Linked DNA regions of Homo sapiens: all the other regions are linked to region 1. The links are contacts of gene promoters, found by promoter capture Hi-C in blood cells and fetal thymus (Javierre and others, 2016). All regions are on one chromosome and are shown on one strand. Each heading gives the region's core, a stretch centred on a gene start or on the middle of the fragment in contact. The rest is flanking DNA. Distances are from core to core; before and after follow the strand shown. Region 1 holds the start of TRMT61B (tRNA methyltransferase 61B). Region 2 overlaps ALK (ALK receptor tyrosine kinase). Region 3 overlaps PLB1 (phospholipase B1). Region 4 overlaps PLB1 (phospholipase B1). Region 5 overlaps PLB1 (phospholipase B1). Region 6 holds the start of LOC124907747 (a long non-coding RNA gene).

What was found. The method cuts DNA at HindIII sites, captures the fragments that hold promoters and counts their contacts. A CHiCAGO score of 5 or more calls a contact.
Region 2: a contact is called between a fragment that was not itself captured here and the fragment with the promoter of TRMT61B in region 1, in 1 of 17 cell types (activated CD4 T cells). The highest score is 5.0, in activated CD4 T cells.
Region 3: a fragment that was not itself captured here is called in contact with the fragment with the promoter of TRMT61B in region 1 in 4 of 17 cell types (naive CD4 T cells, total CD4 T cells, naive CD8 T cells and 1 more); the score reaches 9.0 in naive CD4 T cells.
Region 4: a fragment that was not itself captured here is called in contact with the fragment with the promoter of TRMT61B in region 1 in 2 of 17 cell types (activated CD4 T cells and naive CD4 T cells); the score reaches 5.3 in activated CD4 T cells.
Region 5: a fragment that was not itself captured here is called in contact with the fragment with the promoter of TRMT61B in region 1 in 1 of 17 cell types (total B cells); the score reaches 5.3 in total B cells.
Region 6: a contact is called between a fragment that was not itself captured here and the fragment with the promoter of TRMT61B in region 1, in 1 of 17 cell types (total CD8 T cells). The highest score is 5.0, in total CD8 T cells.

The regions. Positions count from the first base shown.
Region 1 is chr2:28,868,513-28,872,491 of GRCh38, reverse strand. It overlaps TRMT61B (tRNA methyltransferase 61B), which reads left to right and starts at 2,183. Exons shown (of 7, transcript NM_017910.4): 1 at 2,183-2,913. The coding sequence starts at 2,215. RefSeq lists enhancers at 1,841-1,990, 2,221-2,390, 2,005-2,529, 3,159-3,673, 3,674-3,979. The HindIII fragment of the contact is 7,170 bases long and covers 1-3,772 here.
Region 2 is chr2:29,196,817-29,200,795 of GRCh38, reverse strand. It overlaps ALK (ALK receptor tyrosine kinase), which reads left to right. Exons shown (of 29, transcript NM_004304.5): 27 at 3,120-3,254; 28 at 3,936-3,979. Among named protein-coding and RNA genes, the nearest start is that of CLIP4, 83 kb to the right of the region's middle. The HindIII fragment of the contact is 3,270 bases long and covers 1,070-3,979 here.
Region 3 is chr2:28,562,400-28,566,378 of GRCh38, reverse strand. It overlaps PLB1 (phospholipase B1), which reads right to left. Exons shown (of 58, transcript NM_153021.5): 18 at 3,280-3,338; 19 at 1,026-1,099. Among named protein-coding and RNA genes, the nearest start is that of PLB1, 68 kb to the right of the region's middle. The HindIII fragment of the contact is 8,202 bases long and covers 1-3,979 here.
Region 4 is chr2:28,581,855-28,585,833 of GRCh38, reverse strand. It overlaps PLB1 (phospholipase B1), which reads right to left. Exons shown (of 58, transcript NM_153021.5): 24 at 3,701-3,766; 25 at 3,329-3,429; 26 at 1-73. Among named protein-coding and RNA genes, the nearest start is that of PLB1, 88 kb to the right of the region's middle. RefSeq lists an enhancer at 1,310-1,369. The HindIII fragment of the contact is 5,337 bases long and covers 1-3,979 here.
Region 5 is chr2:28,606,635-28,610,613 of GRCh38, reverse strand. All of the region lies in intron 43 of PLB1 (phospholipase B1), which reads right to left. Among named protein-coding and RNA genes, the nearest start is that of PLB1, 110 kb to the right of the region's middle. RefSeq lists enhancers at 2,443-3,074, 3,075-3,705, 3,706-3,979 and a silencer at 3,061-3,228. The HindIII fragment of the contact is 2,503 bases long and covers 971-3,473 here.
Region 6 is chr2:29,127,883-29,131,861 of GRCh38, reverse strand. CLIP4 (CAP-Gly domain containing linker protein family member 4) reads right to left here. Exons shown (of 16, transcript NM_024692.6): 3 at 465-604. LOC124907747 (a long non-coding RNA gene) reads left to right here and starts at 1,514. Exons shown (of 2, transcript XR_007086264.1): 1 at 1,514-1,734. The HindIII fragment of the contact is 813 bases long and covers 1,519-2,331 here.

The DNA.
Region 1 (3,979 bases), core at 934-3,433:
GGTATGGTGGTGCACACCTGTAATCCCAGCTATCTGGGAGGCTGAGGCAGGAGAATTGCTTGAACCTGGGAGGCAGACATTGCAGTGAGCCGAGATCATACAACTGCACTCCAGCCTGGGCGAGAGTGAGACTCTGTCTCACAAAGAAAAAAAAAGGAAAAAAAGAAGGGAGAAATCCTGTTGATGGAGTTTATGGTGGCTGATGTCCTAGAAAGTACTGATTAGAAAGTATTAATTTATGTCTTAGAAAGTAATAACGGCCAGGCGCGGTGGCTCATGCCTGTAATCCCAGCACTTTGGGAGGCCGAGGCGGGTGGATCATGAGGTCAGGAGTTCGAGACCAGCCTGGCCAACATGGTGAAACCGAGTCTCTACTAAAAATACAAAAATTAGCCTGGCATGGTGGCAGGTGCCTGTAACCCCAGCTACTCGGGAGGCTGAGGCAGGAGAATCGCTTGAACCCAGGAGGCAGAGGTTGCAGTGAGCCAAGATCGTGTCATTGCACTCCAGCCTGGGCAACAAGAGCAAGACTCTGTCTCAAATAAAAAAAAAAAAAAAGAATAACAAGATTTATTTCATCAAATTTAAACAGAATTCACATTGACTTCACAGCCCTTTGAATATACTTGGACTTTAAGTTCAACTGTGCTGTTGACCAGTCTTTCCAAACGGTGTTACAGTACAAAGAGCATGGGCTGCTGAACCAGACTGACTAAATAGGAAACTCTGCAATGCCACTTGTCAGCTATGCATCTTGACCAACTTATTATTATTATGTTGCACGTGGGTCTTGAAATCCTGGGCTCAAGCAATCCTCTGGCCTGGGTCTCCCAAAGTGTTGGGGTTACAGGTGTGAGCCACCACTCCTGGTTTCCCCAAATTATTTAATCTCCCTGGGCCAGTTCTTTTACTCATAAAATGGATTTGTTTCTAACACAGAATTGTTGGAAACTTAAATGAGTGTCTAACGTGCCTCGTATTGCCAGACTCTCAATAAACTTTTGCCCAGTCAACTAATATCCAGCAAAGAGGCTAGCGATTTTTCTTTTTTTTTTGAGACAGAGTTTTGCTGTGTCGCGCAGGCTGGAGTGCAGTGGTAGCTCGATCTTGGCCCGCTGCAACCTCCGCCTCCTGGGTTCAAGCTATTCTCATGCCTCAGCCTCCCTTGTAGCTGGTATTACAGGCGTGCACCATCGCGCCCGACTAATTTTTTTCCCCCGAGAGGAGTTTTGCTCAGTCGCCCAGGCTGGAGTGCAGTGCCGAGATCTCAGCTCACTGCAACGTCTGCCTCCCGGGTTCAAGCGCTTCTCCTGCCTCAGCCTCCCGAGTAGCTGGGATTACAGGTGCGTGCCTCCACGCCCAGCTAATTTTTGTATTTTTAGTAGAGACGGGGTTTCACCACATTTGCCAGGCTGGTCCCGAACTCCTGACCTCAAATGAGCCGCTTGCCTCGGTCGGCTTCCCAAAATGCTGGGAGGCTAGTGATATTTAACGCTAAATAACTCTGGCCTCCAAAGATACCTGTTTCCATTTTAAGACACTTCTATTTCGTTTTGGGAGGGTAAACTAGTTATATTTTAATAATGAAAACATGTGTTACATAAGCACATAGTGAGTACTCGAATCAACCTCGGACTCTCCGGGCGTGAGGGGTGGGTGAGGGGACCGGCAGGTGGTCACAGCCCCATCAAAAGGGAGTTGGGGCTGGGGGATGTCGCGGTCAACTGGGAAAGGAGAGCCAATCAGCAAGTGGCGCGTCCCACGCCGTCTGTCAAATGCATCTGGGGGTTAGCTGTACTCATACATCTTGTGGGTGACTAGGTGACTTCCGTGTTCAAGACACAAGCGAGCTAAGCCTGGGATTTCAGTTTGCACAGCGCTTTGTTAAGTTTTGTCTCTCAATCTTGCTGTCCAAGAGCGAACCTGGAGGTCGTCTGTTAGCGGTAAATTCTTTACCCACATTCCGAAAAGGAAAACGGCGGCCGCGCGCGAGGACATATTCCTTGGATGGTCACTCAACCAGGACTCCGCTGCTCCCGCGCCCTAGCTTGACCTAGCGCACCGCCCCCTCCCCGACGCAGGCGCAGTCGCGGAGCTGTAGAGCCCCACGCAGCTGCAGAGCCATCGGGCTGCTGCGCCATGCGCGCGACTGGGAAAGAAGGGGTCGCGCTAGGCTTGCGTCACTCGTCTGCGACGGCGCCTTCGCGAAACACTATGCTAATGGCATGGTGCCGCGGTCCTGTCTTGCTGTGCCTGCGGCAGGGGCTCGGAACCAATTCATTCCTGCACGGCCTGGGGCAGGAGCCCTTCGAGGGAGCTCGGTCACTGTGTTGCAGGTCCTCGCCTAGAGACCTGCGAGATGGAGAAAGAGAGCACGAGGCGGCACAAAGGAAAGCCCCAGGAGCAGAGTCTTGCCCATCTCTCCCTCTGAGCATCTCGGACATTGGGACTGGATGTCTTTCGTCACTGGAAAACCTCAGACTGCCGACGCTGCGGGAAGAGTCATCCCCTCGAGAGCTCGAGGACTCGAGCGGAGACCAGGGCCGGTGCGGTCCCACACACCAGGGATCCGAGGATCCTTCGATGCTCTCGCAGGCCCAGTCCGCTACCGAGGTCGAAGAGCGTCACGTCTCCCCTTCTTGTTCAACTTCCAGAGAGAGACCCTTTCAGGCTGGGGAACTGATTTTAGCTGAGACTGGGGAGGGAGAAACAAAATTTAAGAAATTATTTAGGTTGAACAACTTCGGACTCTTAAATAGTAACTGGGGGGCAGTCCCGTTCGGCAAGATCGTGGGGAAGTTCCCCGGCCAGATACTGAGGAGTTCCTTCGGTAAGCAGTACATGCTGAGGAGGCCAGCCTTGGAAGACTATGTAGTATTGATGAAAAGAGGGACTGCCATAACATTCCCAAAGGTAATGCGATGGAGATAAGGTGTGTATTGGTTTCAGGAGGGGCAAAGACAGATGCAGTACTCAGTCCTGATTAATGTATTCAAAGACATCTCAGAACGTTTGGATTTTTTATTGTACTCAGGCTTTTAAAATAAACCAATGGTTATAACTTTTACATATCATGATGAAAATTAGCATTAGGGAACGGCTAGATTTTAATTTTAACTTAGGAGTCTCGAGTCCCTTATTTGTAAAATGTGGATAATAGCTCAACTTTCTGTTAGGGTGATGTGAACTCACTACGTACATAATAAGTACTAATTTTGTTCCCCATTACTCTTAAGTTTATAACTTCAGGACTCAAGAGAATGTTGAACTCTTAGGGAACAATTTTTTAGTACTACTATGATGATATTTTAATATTCAATAATCATGTTACAAGAGTATATTAACAATAGGTACATTACGGTGCTTTTCCCCTTTTAGGGAAGAAATAGAGTTTTATATTACAATAGCTAACATTCAACACCAAACATAAAATGACTATTCTTTATTAAAAAGTTAACTGCCTAAAGCCTAGTTTCAGTCTTTTTTTTAAGACAAGTTCTCACTCTGTCATCCAGGCTGGAGTGCAGTGTTGCGATCTTGGCTCCCTGCAACCTCTGCCTCCCGGGTTCAAGCGATTCTCCCACCACAGCCTCCTGAGTACCTGGGACTACAGGCATGCACCACCACCCCGGGCTAATTTTTGTAGAGACGGGGTTTCGCCTTATTGCCCAGGCTGGTCTTCAACTCGTGGCCTCAAGTGATCCGCCCACCTCGGCCTCCCAGTGCTGGGATTACAGGCGGGAGCCACCGCGCCCAGCCCTAGTTTGAAGCTTATGCTAATCATCTATTGCTAGCAGATTATTTCAATCCTTAGTCACAGTCCTTGAGTAGAATGTTCCTGTGTAACACAACTCCTCCTCCTTTCTCCAGATCAGGATTCATTCGTTATTTATTCAGCAAATTGACTGCCTTCCATACTCAAGGCACTGTTTAGGGAAGTATAGTGTTGAACTGCAGTCCTCACCCTCAACATAGACCT
Region 2 (3,979 bases), core at 1,455-3,954, 330 kb before region 1:
TACATGTATATACATATATATACGTATATATATACATATATACGTATATATATACGTATATATATACATATATACGTATGTATATTTGATTTTAAATGCTCTGGTGCAAAGCTTTGGGCTTTTGTCGCTCCTGTTTAGGGCAGGCTTATAGGTGATGAAAGAACCATCTGGCATACAAAATATAGATTTGCCTCATCTGTAGGGTTTCTAGATAAAATACAAAATGGTCAGTGAAATTGAATTTCAGATGCACAGCAAATAGTTTTTTAGTATAAATATTGGAGCATACATATACTAAAAAAACTATGTGTTGCTTATCTGGAACTCAAATTTAACTAGGTATCTGGTATTGTTTGCAAATATGAAAATCCTACTTATTCAAAATTGTCAAAGTTCTATGACCAATACTACTTCTTGCTCCCTTGAACTCTAAACTAAGAAAATAAATATTCATGTGCAGTTCTATTAGTGCTCTCAAAGGATGCTATAACCTATATCTATCTAGAAAAACAGAAAACATATAGCTATAATTCTTTAGGCCTTACTGCCAGTTTCTTGTTCATTTGATTTTGCCTAGTTAGTTTTGCCTTGAAGGGAAGTAAGATCACCAAACAGAAAGGAATAATATATGTGCCAGGCAATTTGTAAGTAGCAAAATCAAGAGATCTCCAAACAGAAAGGAATAATATATGTGCCAGGCAATTTGTAAGTAGCAAAATCAAGAGATCTAATAATGTATTCCAGTCTGTCTCGGATTAGTTGTATAATAACCTGTGCTTCAACCTTCTCACCTGAAAAATAGGGAAAATATCTTTGCCCAATCCTTCTCACAAGAGTCTTTGAAATTTCACACAGATGATGACAATAAAAGCACCCCATGTTTCTTAGAAGATGAAGGAACTATTGTTCTCTACAATTTTTGTGGTAATATTTGCTAACCTCAGAAAACTACAATCACACTAAAAGATAGTCTTTGTCAAAAAGCTGATCATTAGGTAGTGGTTTAAAGTTTTAATCAAAATATCAAAGGTGATTCTTTTAGAACACGAAGAATTCATCTCATAAAGCTTTTAAAAAAACAAATGAGAAATCAAATATTTTTTAAAGAGAAATAGAGAAAAATGCCTTTTCAGATTTAAGACAAATACACAGAAAGTAAAATAGAATGGTATCAATGCAAGAAGCAGACAAATAGATGAAGTGAAAATATAGCCAGAAACAGACCTGTTTTTAATCGTGAGTCAATGGGTAAGGAGGAAATTATCTTATGCATAGTGTTGGAAGAGTAGTTATTTGAAAAGCAAATCAATTTAGGTCCTTACCTCACACTAGACACCAAATTAAATTCCAACTAGATTTAAGAAGAGAGCAAAAACAAACACAACTAGAAGAAGATAGCAAATATTTATCTAATCTTTGGTGAAGGGAAGATTGTATAACTATAAAATAAAGGAAATCATGACATTAAAAAAATAGGTTTGACTATCTAAAAATAAAAATCTTTCTTTGGTATGCTAAAAAGTAGCATTAGAAAGCAACTAAGGCCAGGTGCGGTGTTTCACATCTGTAATCCCAGCACTTTGGGAGGCCGAGGTGGGTGGATCACCTGAGATCAGGAGTTCAAGACCAGCCTGGCCAACATGACGAAACCCTGTCTCTACTAAAAATACAAAAATTAGCCAGGTGTTGTGGTGGGCGCCTGTAATCCCAGCTACTTGGGAGGCTGAGGCAGGCGAATCACTTGAACCTGGAAGGTGGAGGTTGCAGTGAGCCAAGATGGCACCACTGCACTCCAGCCTGAGTAACAGAGTGAGACTACATAAAAAAAAAAAAAGAAAACAACTAATAAAAGTATTTGAATTTTTTATAAAAGGTTAACATCTCTGACATATAAAGAGTGCCTACAAATCAAAAAGAAAATTGATTGATAGATACCAATTTGTCCCAGCAGATAAAAATGGGCAATTCATAGGAAAAAAAAGTGAAATGAATTAATAAACACTTGGGAAAACATCCAACCATGTGAATTATCAAGTCAATAAACATAATTTAAAATATTCTACCATTTTTTCCCTTAAAATCAGCAAAAGTTGTCATTATTATTAAGAATACTCAATGCTGGTGAGTGTGTCTACCACGCTTTTACATGGTGCTGGTAGATGAACAGAGTAACACATTTGGAAACCAAATAATATGCACCAAGAATTTGTCAATATTCATAGTCTTTTGATCTAGTTATTTTACTAGAATTAGCCTACATTTTAATTCAGTAATTACCCTGAATTACTAGATTATCCTATCTGGATTCAAGATCTATCTTGAAAGTTATAGGACTGCTGACTGTTGGATGGGAAGTGGAGGGGTGTGGGAGAATGGAATCAAGGATGACTCCTAGGTTTTGGGCTTGAGCAAATGTATAACCAGAGGTGCTGATGAGTTGGAAAAGAATAAAGGAGATGATGTGTGTACAGAAAGAGTTCCATTTGGGCATGTTAAATTTGAGTTGCCTATTAAAATAGGCCAGTGAAGTTGATGAGTGGGCATCTGATAGATGAAACTGAAGCTCAGAGAACTGTAAGAGACTATGAAATCAGCTGGCTGGACATCCTAATCTAGTAATTCAGAGACTTTATCTTAAGGAAATCTTCCTTTTAAAAAATGCACAAAGATGTTCATTATAGTATTTTAAATATTTTGAAAACTGAAAACAATGTGGAAATGATAAGGCAAACCAACTACTCAATGGAATGTTTTACAGCCATTAGCCATTCCAAATGTTATTTATGAAATGGACTGGCATGGAAAATGTTTATGATATAATGAAATGTGCAGAAAAGTCAAGGTTCAAAATTGCATATTGAATATAACTGCAAATAAGTGAAAAAAAATCTCAGCACAGAAACGACTTAAAAATCAACAGGGGTTGTCTTTTAAGGGAGCATCATGTGTAGTATTTTCTTATTTTTTAAATTTTTCTACATTTTAAGAGTTCTATGTTATGGAAAAGGGTATAATGGGGGAAAAAAAGGTTGAAATTGTATGTCTGTGTGCCTGTGTGTGTGTGTGAATGTGGGTGGGTGTGTCTATATCCATCTCCATGTCCTCTGTCCCATGCCCAGGTCCTTTGGAGTGCTGCTATGGGAAATCTTTTCTCTTGGATATATGCCATACCCCAGCAAAAGCAACCAGGAAGTTCTGGAGTTTGTCACCAGTGGAGGCCGGATGGACCCACCCAAGAACTGCCCTGGGCCTGTGTATGACTCTTTTAGGAACACTTCTGCTAGTTACTAAGCAGTTTTTCTTTTCAAAAAATATCCAGAGCCACATATGCTTCTTTAAGATGAAGGGGCAGATGGCTGCCCTCCCTTTAATATGCCCCAAGATGCGAATGTGACTGCGACTTCAGTGAGATGGATGCGTCTCCCAGGCCCTCAAAAGCAAGGATGCCATCCCAGAAAAAGTATCCATTGTCTGGCTACAGGCTGTGGACTCACCAGGCCTACATTCCCCAAGCTCCTGCTGGGAATGTGTGTCCCAGGCCCAGTCCCTGCTGCCCTACACCGTATGTCTGTGTCTACTTTAAAGATTTCCATTCCCTGCAATGTCTCCTGCCCTGCCTGGCACCCCTCACTTCCTTCCCACAAGCAACGTGGATGGGAAATATAATTGGAATATTCTGTCCCCAAAGTGGCTTTAACTCAGGAATGGAGTGACAGCAGCCGTGGTTAACATAAACATCAGGATGTCTGTGTTAGATACCTTTACACCTGCGCACTCTTCCTTGACCAATCAGCAGGGGGCAGCATAGGCCAAGTACACGGGGCCTAGACGAGTTCGCACCCTCAACGTATTCGTTGCAACCCTGGGGCTGGAAGAAAATATATTTTTCATCATTGTGCTTCTCCTTATTTTAATTAATGTGCTTCTTCTTTTAGATACCGGATAATGACTCAGTGCTGGCAACATCAGCCTGAAGACA
Region 3 (3,979 bases), core at 511-3,010, 310 kb after region 1:
TCTAGAGAGTCAGCCATCTTCCAAGCCAATAATAAAATTCCAAGGTGATCAAAGTTAGAAGGGTTTCTAGGCATGCAAATATGCAGCATTCCAGAGTGGATTGGATTCCCTGCTTTTCCACACCCCCCCACCCCATTCTGTGCCAAGGGTGTCTAGGAGCATCTAAAAGGTTCCCCAAATGTTTGGGTTTAACTGTGTTGCAACGTGAGGAAGGATGCCAGAGACTCGGCACTCAGGTTAAAGCAGGTGTCAGATAGAGATGCCAGATTCCAGGTGAGGAAACACCAAACCTGCCCGGGCTTGCAGCAGAGGTTTGATCACATACAGAGCAGAAATAAGCCTGCCCAAAGTGATACAGGATAAGGGAATGCACTGGTGGGGGCCAGGAAGCATCTGCTCTGCTTCCTGATCTTTTATCTTCTGGCTCTGTGATCTTGGTCAGGTTACTTGCCCTCTCTGAGCCTTGTTTCCTCATCTGCAAAATAAAGGCCCTATAATAACAATGCCAACTACCAGATACTTAGTGTCAAGCACTGTGCTGGACACCTAAATTCTTTCTAGCCCTCAGACAGTGCTCAGGTAGTAGCATTATTTCTGCATCAGAGATGAGGAGAGAAGCTCAGAGAGGTTAGGGAACTTGCCCAAGGTTACATCCAACTGGGCAGCTAGGGCTCAGCTACAACTCTGGTTCCAAAGGCAATGATCTGTGCATCACTCAGGCCACTGCCTCCTTCTGAGATTATATCACAGAGGGAGAAATGGAAGCCAGAGAAGCATTTCCAGCCCAAACATTTATGTAGTTTCTCTCCTGGATTCCTGGCTCAAGGCTCAGCTACTGTTTTGGGCAATGTAGTGGTTTGAGGAGGCTGGTGAATACCTTTTTCAAATTAAACCTAGAAGTTGGTCATAGAAAAGAACAAAATGGCCCACCCTTCTGCTTAAGGCGTTGTTTTCTAGAACACTCAGGGGGCTTCCCTTGCTCTGCAATGAAGGGGCCTTTGGGGCCTTGCCACACCCTCACTCACCTCCAGGACAGGCCTCGGTACTGAGTCAAGACGTCCAAGACGTTCCCAGGTGTGGACCCGGCCCCATTGCCTGCCTGAGAGGGAACAATGAGGGGGTGAGTTTCTCTGCTTTCCCCAGTGGCCCACCTCTGCCTACCTGCCAAAAGGTCTATGTTCTTATGCTGGCCAGGACCACCTGGGCACTCTCTGGGATCTAGGGTCTAGATGGCACCATGTCTCCATATGTATCCTGCCTTTTCAGAGATGAGTGAGAGTGCCCACTGGGAATGCCTGGTGCTACTCCCAGCTCTGCTTCATTCTAAGAAACCCTGCCTAGGCCAAGACCAAGTAAAACTCGTCCAGCAAAAGTGCTCTTGAAATTAGACTGTACCTTTTCAAAAGGATACATTTCAGGGTCCTGTTTTTCTCATTTTTTTAAAGTTGTGAAGTATATCATAAAAGGAAATACATCATTATCCTTTTATACCAATATATCTCACCTATGCAGTTTAAAATGTAGTAATAAAATGAAATCCCACGTAGCCGTCATCAGCTGAAGAAAGCACAATGTGGACACTCTCCAGGTGCGTGTCCCTTGCCTAAAGCACTTTGCTTCTGAGCATTTTGAAGGGCATGCTGAGACTGGCCTCCCAGGCAGTTGGGGGTGAAGGCTGGCCTCCATGAGAGGCCCCCCAGGTGTGATCCCTGCTCTCTGGTGCCCAGTTCCTTTGCTACCTGCCAGGCAGGTTCACACCCAAAGTGCTGCCTCCCTAGGAACCCCTGAGCAGCTGTGCCGAGATGTGATGACCCCTTGTCCTGAGAGTATCTTCAAGGAGACCAGGGAATTGGGAGCAGGTGATGTCAGGCCCCGCCGGGCAGGAAGAGGTTGGGATAAGCAGTGTATGAAGCTGCTAAGGCCCAGCCTGCCAGTCCTTCCTGGGAGGTTATGAGCAGTCAGGTCTTTGGGGTAAAGAGTGGCTGAGGGGCCACGGAGGAGGCTGCCACAGCATAGGGATAGGGCCCTGGACTTAGGGTCAGGATCCCTGATTTGTGATCCTGGCTCGAGCACTTACAAGCTGTGTGACCTTAGGCACTTCACCTTGCCCAGCTTCATTCACCTTCTTATTGATTTAGAGACAGGGCCTTGCTCTGTTGTCCAGCCTGGAGTGCAGTTGCACCATTGTGGCTCATTGCAGCCTCGAAATCCTGAGCTCAAGTGATCTTCCAGCCCCAGCCTTTCAAGTAGCTGGGACTATAGGCATGTGTCACCATGCTTAATTTTTTTTCTTTTCTTTTTTGTAGAGATTGGGTCTTGCTACATTGCCCAGGCTCACCTTGACCCCCTGGCCTCAAGTGATCCTCCCACCCTGGCCTTCTAAAGTGCTGAGATTATAGATGTGAGCCACTGGGCCCAGCCTTTATTGGTTGAATCTAAAGAAAGTCATGCCTCACAGGATTTTGTCATGAAGATACATCCCACTGAGTGGATGATATCATTGTGATAGACCATAGACATGAGAGGTGTCTGCTTGTTCTTGGGGAGGATTCAGCTGGAGACCCTGTATTCTACTGGCCCAGAGAATAGCAGCTGGACTCTGATGAGAGGCTGTTGAATGGAAGCTGTGTCTAGGAACCTCTGGGACTCCCAGCCCCCAGGCTCTCAAGGGCCTGATTCTGCTTTTCATGGATAGTGCTTTGCAGGGTCTGGGATGTCACCCGGGGGCAGATGCAGAAGTGGGTTTGGAACATCTCTGGCCTATCTGCCTCTTCCACAGACTCCCGTCTTCCCACCCTCCCCCACCTCCCTGCCCCCATTAGCACTTGCCCTGTCTCATCATCTCTTCACCTCTCTTCCTGGTACCTTCCCTTAGCTTTTCTACATGGACAAAACAAAGCACTGGATCCTTGGAGGAGTTCTACACCATGGTCTGGAGATCTTGTCCAATCCTGCCCCACCGCTGACCAGCTGTGTGACTTGGGGTGGGTCACTCCTGTCACCCACACTCCCTCTGGGGTCCCTCCACTTCCTGCTCTCTCCTTCATCTCAGCATTGGGGGAGGAAGATGAGACCAGAATGGAGGTGGGAAACCATGATGGGAAGGGAATGCTGTTGAATGCCAGGGTGGGTCGGACAATGGAGAGATGGAGATCAGGACCCGAGATGGTAGCATCTAAGAGCCAGGCGTGAGACCTTCTCTCTCCATTTTCCTCTCCAGGTTCTCATATTAGTCAAAATCTTTTCCCCTCCTGCCCCTTCTGCATCAGGGTCACTTACCGTGAGAGAGTCACCCAGGGCTCCAATTACGTTGATGTCAGCCGGCTTCAGCCTATGAACTAAGAATATAAGCAGGAGTGAGTGGAAAATGGGGCTTCCAGGAAAGCACTGGACCCATCTACTCTGAAACAAAGGAACAACTTCCAGGATAACAAAGAAAAAGTCAGTTTTTACCACCAAGACACCTTGGATAAAAGATAGGAAAAACCCATCCTTGTCAATGGGCTCTGCAATGCCAGCTGTGGAGTCTGAGTGCTGGCTTCCTCTCTGGGGCACCTGGACACAGGAACAGGAAGCTGAAAGGTGGATCCTGCTTTAAGTGGGGAGCTGTGCTCGCATTTGGTGGGACCAGATGCTACAAGGCGAGTGGTGGCAGGCCCTTGGCAAGGTGATTTGGGAGGAGGGAAGAAATTGCCATGGAAATGCAACCAATACTTAATCTATTCTAGGATCTGATATTTGGGATAAAATATTACATCATCCTATAAAAATCAGTTCAGTTTCTCTAAAGTGAAAAAGGAATACTTTTATGCCACTGACTTTTTTTTTTTTTTTTTTTGAGACAGAGTCTTGCTCTGTCTCCAGGCTGGAGTGCAGTGGTGCAATCTTGGCTCACTACAACCTCCGCCTCCCAGGTTCAAGCTGTTCTCCTGCCTCAGCCTCCTGAGTAGCTGGGAATACAGGTGCACATCACCACACC
Region 4 (3,979 bases), core at 766-3,265, 290 kb after region 1:
CTTGTTGAATTCGATGAGGGTAGCAAGTTCTGTTGAGTTATCATCAAACTTCAGGACACAGGGACACAGAGACCTGTAGACCAAACCAAAGAGAAACCCTCATCCCACCAAGATCACCATCCTGAATAAGTGATGCAGAAACGCTGGCTTGAGACTCAATACATTTCTTTTAACTTGGAGTTCAGAGATCTGTGCTAATGAGGAGCCTGGCTGGCTGACCTGCTGACCATACCAAACGAAGCTAAAGAAGATTTCCAGGCCAGGCGCGGTGGCTCACGCCTGTAATGCCAGCACTTTGGTGGGCCGAGGTGGGTGGATCACTTGAGGTCAGGAGTTCAAGACCAGGCTGGCTGACATAGCGAAACCCCGTCTCTACTAAAAATACAAACTATTAGCTTGGGGTGGTGCTGCATGCCTGTGGTCCCAGCTACTCGGGAGGCTGAGGCATGAGAATCGCTTGAACCCGGGAGGCGGAGGTTGCAGTGAGCCGAGATTGTGCCACTGCACTCCAGCCTGGGCAACAGAGCGAGACTCTGTCTCAAAAGAAAAAAAAAAAAAGAAAAATTCCTAGACCTGGATTTGCTCTTGAAAATGAAATAGACTTCTTCTGATTTCTGTAGGAGTGACTTTTATGGAGACGAGTCACCTTACGGCTGTCTGAGGAAAGTGCTGTGCCGATGAGGCATACTGCAGTGACAACAATAATAATTGCTAAGATACATTGATTTGAGTGTATCTTAGCAATTATTATTGAATAATTAACATTGAACACTGTACCAAGCACTGCAATAAAAACTTTATGGGTATTAACCTGTTTAGTCCTCCCAGCCATTCTAGAAGTGGTATTCTCATTATCCCTGTTTTAGAGATGAGGAAACCCAGGCTCAGGGTGGTTGAGTAACTTTCTCAAGGTTGCATGGGTGCTGAGTGTGGGAGCTAGGACTTGAACTCAAGTCTGCCTGGCTCTGAACCTGAGCTCTTAATCTCTATGTTAAACTGCTTCCATCCAATCTGCAGCTCTGACCCGGCCAGCTATCTGGCACATCTGGGCTTTTGGTCCAGGGGGATGAGGTGATAACAGCAGGGATGGCTCCGTGTAGACTCAGCACTGCAGAGGAAAGCACAGCCACCCGATGAAACAGTGGAGAGGCGGGGAGTGCAGGGCACTGCAGAGGTGGCAGGAGAAGGTGACCTGAGTCTATCCAACCTTGACATTCAGTGACTTGGCCATCTCAGATCTGTGAATGGGCCTGGCAAATGCCTATTTTGAACCTTGAGTTTGAATGGTCTAAAAAACCCTGCCAAGATGGGTAGCAAGAGGCTTTCTGGTAAACTGCTCTGAAATGGAGTGAAGACACCGATCCCCTGTGTGGCCCAGTGACTGGAGAAAGTGTGAGCCAGCGGATGAGTCAGCAGTTGGAAATAGCATGCCTGACACCAGCTGCGTTCATAGGAACATGTCACCCAAGCAACCATCCTGTCTCTGCTCACAGCACCGTGAGGCCTTCTCCAGGGGACCTGTGCGGTTTGGGTCCCCCAGGTGAGGCATGGCATGGATCTGCAGAGGAGCAGGAAAGGTACCCCTTAACTTCCAAGAGCAAGTCTGGCCCTTGTGAATTATTCAGTCATTCAGCAAACAGCAGCTGAGCCCCTACACCATGCTAGCAGTGACTCAGGCTGAGTTCACAGGCTGTGGGGGAGGGAGGCACATGAGTAATTACCATGTGATGTGCTCAGGGCTGGGGTGGGGACCTGTACCGAGTAACAGAGCTGGGGGGCAGGGTAGGGGAGCACAGTCTCAGTGACCTTGGCTAACAGTCCAGAGGAAAACCTGCAGGAAGGAAGGCTGCGGAAAACGTTCATGCTTCACTTAGAGGAACGTCTTATTCCTGACGGTCCTGGAGATGTGTGATACAGGCTGGGTCTCCCTTATCTGAAATGCTTTGAGCCAGAAGCATTTCAGATTTCAGATTTTTTTTTTTTTGGAATATTTGCATTACCCTATGGCTATCGTTTTAAGCCACATCTTTACCACACAGAGAATGAGCAAAAACTAGGTGAGTAATGCACGCAGGTCTTAGCCCCACATGAGCCATTATGGGGAACCTGTTGTTGGAGCATCCGGCCTGCACATGTGCCATTTTGCTACCCTTTGTGGGCATGCTTGAGCCGCAGGATCTGGGCATGCCCAGAAAAGAGAGTGCATCGCAGCTGAAGGAGGCTTTTTGGGGATGCTGAATAAACTGCGTGCTGTGCACCTGTGTTTTCACTACAACCTGTCACATGAAGTCAGGTGTGGAATTTTCCCCTTGTGGTGTCATGTCAGCACTTTAAAAGTTTTGGATTCGGGGCCAGGCATGGTGGCTTCACGCCTGTAATCCCAGCACTTTGGGAGGCCGAGGAGGGTGGATCACCTGAGGTCAGCAGTTCGGGACCAGCTTGGCCAACATGATAAAACTCCGTCTCTACTAAAAATACAAAAATTAGCTGGGCATGGTGGTGTGCCTGTAATCCCAGCTACTAAGGAGGCTGAGGTGGGAGAATTGCTTGAACCTGGGAGGCGGAGACTGCAGTGAGCCAAGATCATGCCACTGCACTCCAGCCTAGGCAACAGAGCGAGACCCTGTCTCAAAAAAAAAAAAAAGTTTTGGATTTTGGAGCATTTCAGATTTCAGATTTTCGGATGAGGGATGCTCAGCCTGTATTAGAAGGGGAAGCCAGCTCTGTCTGGCTCTGGAGGCTGAGGGGTGAAGACGTCCTCTCAGGCACCTTCTCAGGACCAGGGTTCTCTACTCTCTGGGGAGGACTCTGTCCTCTGGACCCTGCTAATTCTGGTTTGACCTCCTTCTCTGGCAGGTGACAGTGGCCCTATATCTGTGAATGCTTTACATGGAACACCCATACCAACCAGAGGCACCCCTGTCCTAGAGATGGGCCTCTAGGAGGGGGCAGATCAGCTCTGGACACACTTGGAAGTAGGTCCCAGCAGTGGCCTGGGCGGTCCCCGGGCCTCAGACACACAGCTTGACTCCATTCCTAGCGTTTTACTCTTCCCTCTGGAGGCCTGGAGGGTGCCTTGTGGCTGCCATGGCAACAGAGGCGGGGTGCAGGGGTAGTTCCCCATGCACACCCTGAGGTGGGCTGAGGCCTACACCAGGGTGGAAAAATCCTAGGATATCCTCCCCTTAGGCTTTTCCAGGTTAGAAGATGGGGTGGTCACAGCCCTTTCACACTTCGGCCCTTGGGTTTTCTAAGGAATTTGCTAAGGGTGCCACTGCCCTTAGCAGTGAGGATTCTTAGTAGAATCGGGGAGAAGTATCTGTCTGACCTGAGGATCATCCTTGGGCAGTAGACTTTTTTCTCCTGGTACAGCTCCCTCAGGTTGACGATCTCAAGCACCGTCACCAGGTTCACAAATGCCCGAGGAACCTGAGAAAAGGCAAACTCAGTCACCAAGAGGATGAGGCTGGGCAGCCTTTCACCTCGGTTTGGGGCCTGCTCCTCCTGCTGAAGTTTCAGATCTAGGGACTTCCATCTGCCCCCATCCACTTCCTCCACCCGTCCCTGCTCCCCCTCTATGCATTTGGGCTGGGATCCACAACAAAGGTGACCTGCCAAGGAGGTCTCAGCAGGATGCCAGAGCTTCCTCTAGGCTAGGTCTGAGGTCTAAGATGCAGGCCTCATGGCCTAGCCTCCGTACCTCAGCATGGAGGATGTCCAGGGCCTTTCCAATGTTGTCTGTGAAGTTCTGGGGAGAATAGTGGACCTGCAGGAAGAGGAAGTGTCCCTTGAACACCATTTGTCACCTAATCTCTCTACAGAACAGGGCTACTTTCTCTCTTGGGTCCCCTTCTTTTTTTTTTTTCTTTTTTTGAGATAGGATCTCACTCTGTCTCCCGGGCTGGAGTGCAGTGGTGTGATCATGGCTCACTGCAACCTTCACCTCCTGGGCTCAAGCAATCCTCCCACCTCAGCCTCC
Region 5 (3,979 bases), core at 973-3,472, 260 kb after region 1:
ACCCATATGAGGCAGGGGTTGGCAGCCATGTGTGCAATGAGTGGCTGGAACTGAGAAGACTCTCAGCTGGGTGGTGGCAGTCAGAGGCAGGAGGACATAATGGTATTTCACGGGATGTCCTAAGAGGTTTTCTATCCCATTCCATTCAAAAAGTGCTAGTTCCGGCCGAGTGTGGTGGTTCACACATGTAATCCCAGCACTTTGGGAGGCCAGTGTGGGAAGATTGCTTGAGCTCAGGAGTTTGAGACCAGCCTGGGCAACAGAGTGAGACCCCATCACTATTAATTAAAAAAAAAAAAGTGCTGGTTCTTTACCTACACTGATTTCAGGTGGTAAGAAAGTGTGAACATTTGGGGACAGAGAGCATTAGGACAAATACCTAATGCATGCACAGCTTAAAATCTAGATGACCGGTTGATAGGTACAGCAAACCACCATGGCACATGTATACTTATGTAACAAACCTGCACCTTCTGCACATGTATCCTGGAACTTAAAGTCAAATAAATAAATAAATAAAAAAGAAAGTGTGAACATTTAAGCAGAGGCCATAGGGTGTCTTGGGAGGGATGTGGTAGAAGAATTCCATTATTCTATGAGAGATTGCATCCACAGAAGTCTAAGGCCCTCCCCACTGAGAACCTAAGATTACATAAGTCTATTGTTTCATGGTGGGAAGGTGCGACTAGTTAGCCTTTAACGTACAAAGTGATGAGAATCTGAGCCCCTGCAGTGGCAGTGGGAAAAGGAAGAGGGACAGGTGGGAAGAATCCTATTAGATTCTGGAGGACTGGTAAGAATCCGATTAGATAGGGTCCCTGACATTTCATGCCTGTAGAGCTTGAAAACCCTAATGAAGTTGGCAGAAATAGAGAACTCCTAAGGAACAGAGAGTTTGGGAAGACAAAGAATTAGTTCCTATTTAGACACTCCTTGCTCAGAAAATTATTTTTTGAATGAATGTTAAGCTTGAGATGGTGGTGGGGTCATGGCAGGATTGGATTTAGAAGCTCTGAGCGTCAAAAAGATAACAATGTCACTTATATGTAATTCAATACAGAAGCACTGCTAAACAACAAACTAAGTTTAAGGGAATTTGATAAACTTCGGCTTTTTCTCATAAGAAAAGATAGGGTATGATACATGAACTTATTTCAGCCCCCTCCTGCTTGATCATACATTAATCTGCCTTTTGGGTAACCTTATACCAGATAGAGCATCCAAGGGGAAATGTATTTTAAAGGTCAGAAATAGAGGATTGGAGTTCGGGAAAGGAGAAATGAAGACACAGATTGAGAGACTGAGGAATCCAGCACAAAGAAATTTTACAGGAAATCCTGGAAATGGGTAAGTCTCAGAGTGAGAGGATGTGGAGAGAGAGAAAAGAAAACAGAGGCCGGGCACAGCTGCTCACACTTGTAATCCCAGCTCTTTGGAAGGCCAAGGCTGATGGATCACTTGAGTCCAGAGTTCAAAATCAGCCTGAGCAAAATGGCAAGACCCCACCTCTACCAAAACAAATAAACCAAAATTAGCTGGGCATGGTGGTGCATGCCTGCAGTCCCAACTACTCAGGAGGCTGAGGTGGGAGGATGGCTTGAGCCTAGGAGTTGAAAGCTGCAGAGAGCTGTGATTGCGCCACTGCACTTCCAGCCTGGGAGACGGAGCAAGACCCTGTTTCAAAAAGTGAGTGAAAAAGGAAAGAAAATAGAATGGAGACATGAAAATTGGAGAATATCTACATTTTCAAGACTGGGGAAAGGGAGGAGGAGGGTCATTAAAGGCAAGCAAACAGAAGACCAGAAAAATCAAGGCGATTTAGTGTCCACAAACCCAGGAAGGAGTGAATTTCAAGGGGGAGGTGGTGACTTTTGACAAGGGCTTCAGAGAGGTCAAAAAGAATGAAACCTAAGAAAAGGACCAGGTGTTCAGCCAGCTGCCCTGGGGTTAGGAAAGGAGTGGGCAGAGAGCCCATTAAGGCAGAGTATAGGCTCAGTCCACAGAAGGCTAGTCAAAAGTTGTCTGTAAAAGAATTTGTCCAACTTGAAACTACAACAGAAATCCATGGCGTGCTGTTAAGTCACCCTACCTGGCACACAGAACGTATGAGCAGTTAGACTGCGGATGGGAGAAGGGAGGAGGCTGAGAAAGCTCATGCTCACAGCCATCTCGGCCTCCTGCCTCCCGCCCCCCACTGCGTCTTGCCTGTTGCCTGTTGCCTCTATGTTTAGACACATCTAGGACAAAAATAGGTGCTGCCTGGCCCCTGTCAGCTCACACTGAGATGCTGGTGGACTTTTATATCACTCCAAGGCACATGGGAGGGAGCAGATGGGACTGAGGAATGCAGAATGCTCAGAACACAGTGAAGTTGGGCTGGCCAACAGATGGACCCTTTCAGAATGGGCTCCAATGTTGCTTAGCAACAGCTTCACCAGGGCTGGGCTTCTACTGGTTCCACGAGGCTGGATCTGCTCACCTCTGCAAATCAGTGCAGTGGCTCCATTGGGCTCTGTCTAGAAGGGAGGCACTGAGCCCACTCAGCTTAAGATGCTGCTGGGTGGAGCAGCCTCCTTTTGGGGGTCTCTGCCTGATCTGGGGTAAAGCCTGGAAGTGGTTGCCTCGAAGCCCAGGGTGACAGGGCTCTCCCTGACCCAGTGCTTAGGCTCCAACTCAGTACTCAATACACGTTTGTTGAAAGAAAGAGCAAATGATGGCTGCTTTTGTTATGTAATGGAAGGGGAGTGGACAGTTTGGAAAGGGCCCTCCATGGCTGATATTCAGTATGGCTATAGGGTTGGTAAAATATTGACATATCTACAATATGGCTATTTCTGAGTCCCCAAATGCCCCCACTATCCACGGTCCCTGGCTGCTCCCCTAGAACCCCCAGGCATCCTTAGGAAAGCAGTTAAAGAGTTTACACCTGGCACAGTAGGGGCCTCTAAGGTTTTGCTCCAGGCCTTTGGCCAGCACCTGACCACCTGGACTAGAGGCATCTGTGTTGCACTAGCTGTTGCAGAATCTGACAATCTCCTTAGCTCCAAGCACAAGACCCAGCAACTGAGCCCTCTGCTACGACTGTCTTCACTTCCCATCCCTTCTTCCTGCCATTCTTGCTCTCCTGATGGGGCTGATGGCACACAAGACTGAGCCTGAGCCCAAGACTGGGGTAGGGCAGGCAGCAGACAGGGAGCAGGCATGTGAACAGGGGTGCCCACTCTCTCAGGATTCCCAGCAGACACATGGGGGAGCTGCAGGTCCATTCCCCAGCAGGGAGGGTGGGAGAGGGTGGTGTGGCCGACCTAGGAGGGAAACCCAGCCTCCCAGATTGGGTCAGGCCTTCTGCTTTTATTGCTGCTGAGGGTTTTCTGGCCTTGGCCTTATTTGGTTAAAAAGCCATAAGACCGGGCCTAGAAACAGGAGCTGAAGACAATGAGAACCTGCCCCCACCCCAGGCCTGAAGTCAAGCTTAACAACCACTTACGGATTCCTCCTTAAAAGGAGCCTGGAGCTGCCGTGTCCTGGTAGGCCCACCCTCGTCCCTCCTCCATACAGCTCTGGGCTCTGCCCTTTGCTGCTGTCCTCTGTGATCCTTTCCTTGTGGAATCTCCCTAATCCAGGCTCTCCTCTCTCCAACCACAGCTCTTAAGCCTGCCTGGCTCCTGCCTGGGCCCTCTAACCTGCAGTCAGATTTTTTCATCTGCCCCAAACACCACTGCTAAGAGAAGCCCTCCTGCCATTTTCCTGGCATCCTGATTTCCTCTCTCAGGAGCCCACTTTTCTCACCGGGATCCTCTCCCTCTGCTGGGGCCCAGGCCTCCTCTCCCTGCTGCATCTCCTGTTCCCAATGACAGCTGCACTCTTGTCTCCCCTCTCACCTCCCCTGTCCATCCTCATGGACTCCCCTCCATCCTCCAAATCTCTCAGGCCTCAGTAAGGGGGCAAGATGGGTACTGAGGAAGCTGTGGTGGAGGAC
Region 6 (3,979 bases), core at 676-3,175, 260 kb before region 1:
TGTAATGATATTTGAAAAAAGTATAAGCACTCTCTTCCTACAACACAGCAACATACTGGTCAAGGAACCCTCCCTCAAAAAATCTAATATTCTTAAAGACTACATTCAAGCCTATATATTTACCAAACCAACCAAAAGTGTAAATAGAACATGATGGTAATCAAATCCCTTTATGAAATGCATAAAAGTTTACAAAATTAATTTTACAAAGAAGGAAATATGAAAAATGCCCCTCCCTGCACCCGCCAGGAGTCTACAAATGTCAGAAGTACAGAGCATGAAGAAATAATCAGAAGAATATATAGTATTAACTCACTGCCCCATGAAAATCCTGGAAATACAAATAAATATCAGAACTTTTAAAGGGTTTCTCCTTTATTACCATCTTCCTTTCAGATGGGGAAAAAAATCTATACCATTAACAATCCTAACAATGCAAAACTTAAAATGTAAGAATTCCTTACCTCATTTCCAATAATGTCAATGTTTTGTTGGACCTGAGGAACCCACTGTCTCAAAATGGCAAATAATTCTGAAACTGAAGTTTTGGGATCAAAAAGAATTTCCTGGCATGATGCATCATTAGGATCAAAGAAAGAAAATTCTGAAATAAAAAAAGATGCAAATTAAATTTACTAAAAGTTTCAAATAAATATATTGAAAATAATAAACAATAAAACCAAGGTTCAAATGATACAAATATTTTAGATGCTAAAAAAAAATCAGAAGTATCTAAATAAGGAAAATATTATGAACATTTGCTGAGCACTTACTAAATACTTTAAAAATCCTCACCAACACCTTACCTGGCAGGTATTATTCTCATTTTGCACATGAGGAAAGCAAAGCTCAGACTAAATAATACCAGCTCAACATCGCACAGCTAGTAAGTGGCAAATCTGGGGTAGAAAACCAGGTCTGTCTCCAAAGTCTATCTTCTTTCCTCTATTATTCTACTTGCTGAGGTAACTCACCACTGAGCTCAGATTGTAACAGCATGCATAAGTAGTGGGACTCATTGAGGTTTTTTTGTTTTTGCTTTCTTCTTTGCATTTATATATTTTCCAAAATTATACTATGTACACATAGTTCTTACTTCTAGAGTCAGCATAACTAAAAGATGAGAGGCACCAAACTAAAGACACATATACAAGCAGAGCAGCAGTCCATCAGAAGAGAATCAGAAAGATTGAACTGAAATGTGATAACATTCGTAAGCTTAGACAACAAAATGGTCCTGTTAGGCAAAAATCAAAATAGAAGCCAAGACAAACCTTGGCCTCTGAGCCAAAGTCCCACCCCCAGCTCAGGAAAACCTGTAAGGACCTATTCTCCAAAACACCTACTTAAACTGCACATGAAGCTTGAACTTCATTTCTTGGTCAGCATGACTCAGCACATTGCAGCAAATCAGTAATGACTAAACTAACCCACTCATTCTAACCAGTGAGAATTAAGCTGTATGAATTTCCTTTTCTAGGCTTTATAAACCTTACTATAACCTTCGTGAGACAAGCTTCTTACCACTTTTGATTTGGAAGTCTCCCTATTTGCAGTTTTTTACTAACTTAATATTTATATTAAGAAAAGCACCCTGAATTTTCTTTTGACAGTTTTTGATGTCAGAAGCAGGATCAGAAGAAGACCCCTGTGAAGCCCCAAGGCCAGTAACTAGGTGCTGGTACCCAGGGCCGCAGCACTGGCTGCTCTCTCACCCAGCCATGGAGTTCTAGAGTAAGTCTCTTTTGAATCTGAGCTCTCCTCCTTCTGTGTAGAACTCTCCAATTATGCTGAACAACCTTTGCTGAAACTTCTCAGGAAGTCAACCTATTCTGTTCAAAAGGGGGAAGGGTGAAACACATGATTCCCTGTGTTCCAGAGCAGCTGCTGAAAAAAGAATCCTTAATAGTTAAGACCTTTCAGAGAATCTAATGCAAAGATGGGGTCCAAAAACACTGTGGATCAGAATCTTGTGAACTTTACAAAGTTCACAAGAAAAAATAGGTGAACTTTACAAAGAATAATTTGCAATTTCAGTGACCACTTCGGAGAACCTTTAATTTAGGTAAGATAGTCTGCCTTTGGGAGTGCCCTTGAAGGAGGAGTATCCTAAGCCTTTTGGAGACAATGGAATGCATTCTTTGATTTGTATGCAGAAGCTGCTGAACACAAAATGACTCAAAAATAGCTTCTCTAAAAGCATCCCTACAGCACTCAAATAAAAAAAAAATCTTCACTAAAAAGCTGTAGCCATCTGAGCAGGTAACCTTGACTTGTTCCATCTCTCACAGGTACAATTTGGATCCAGCTTCTTTTATAAACCAATAAGCTTTGTATTATTTTAATTGACACATGGCTAAAATTTGGAAATGAAAGCTATAAGATCTCTGTGTCTGTCTGTATACACAAACAGACACAGAGATCTTATAGCTATGTATGTTCAATAGACATAAGTAAAAACAAGTGCTTATATAAATTAAGTATTCCTGAAAACTCTCAGAAAAATAGGAACTAATCCAAATGCTTTTCAAGTTCATGTGACTTGGGTAATTTTCAATAAACAAAAACATTGTTGGTTTAGTTTAAAAAACCAATATGCCTTCAGAGTTGTCAGCATTAGACATAAGGCAGACGTACAACTTTGATTCTATGTAGGTCTACTAGTCAAATAAGCTCATGTTAGACAAGTGAATTACAAATAAGCCTCTGCTATCTCTAAGTTACAAAATTTCTCAGCAAGAAAAACAAGATGATGCTTAGCTATTTAATGTCTCATGAAATTTTCGTAAGTAATCCAAGCATAATTGTTCAAAACAAGTGAATTAAATCAATGTAAGTCCACATAAGATAAATACTGAAACATTAATTGCTGAACATAAGCTTATCTACTTTTGGACAGAGAAACTAAAGATACCTGGGTGTGTTAGTAAACATGTCCTGTGCTACACTGAAAAATTATAATATAAGGAAACGTGCTTCTAGAAATTATGGTGTATTTACATAGATTTCTCAATCTACAGAATGCTAGCGTGACAGTCAAGAAAAAATGTGAAGTAGGAAGATATGTTTTTTGCTGAAAAAGAAAATGAAGGAAAAAAACCAAAATGGCTATAGGAAGTTCAGAAGAGGGAGAGAGAATCTTGTGTGATTAAGCTGGCTAAAATTGAATGAATCTATTATCATTCATATCAAAATAATGCATAACTAGCATTTCAGCTCCTGTTAAAACGACTAAACTTTCTTGGAGTATGGGCCTGCTCTTGATGGGAGATTGTGAAAGGTTTTTCTTTAACTTTTGAATGGTCTGCCTAGAAAGCAAAGATTCTGTATTTTGTCAAGATAATTTCATGTGCTTCGTGCTGTCTTTGATTAAGTTTCTCTCTCAAAAAGTCAAGGGGTTTTGTTTTTTTTTGTTTTTGTTTTTTTTAACAACTACATGGCTTTCTCTGTATTTGCCTTTGAAATCTTTGTCACTTTGGTTAAATGGATAACTAAATACCTGTAATCCTATTTAATCAAGTGCTTTGAATCTTGAATCTTTTGGGTATTCTTTTTATAAACGTCTCAAAAATCAAATTCTGAATGAAGTCTTTTCTGACCTTAGACTAACTCTGGGATTTTTCAACGGCCCCTAGAAAATCTTGTTCTATTTCTTTAAAAAAAAAAAAAAAAAACACAGACATTAAACTAATTAAGCATCTTTGCATGGGAAGCATTGTCAAATAAATGTGAAACTAACTAGGCTTATTTGATATGTGAAACTAACTAGGCTTATTTGATCTATTACACTGCATGAGAAGCATTGTCAAAGGTGATGCTTAACCTTATGTTATTTTTGTATGACTATATTATTAATGTAAGTGTTTTAGAAATTGTATGAAATTCCTAGAAATTGGATATGTTCTGGTATAATTTTATCAGTCATAATTCCAGTTATTATCTTCAAATGTTATAAAATAAACAACCAAATTTCCTTGTC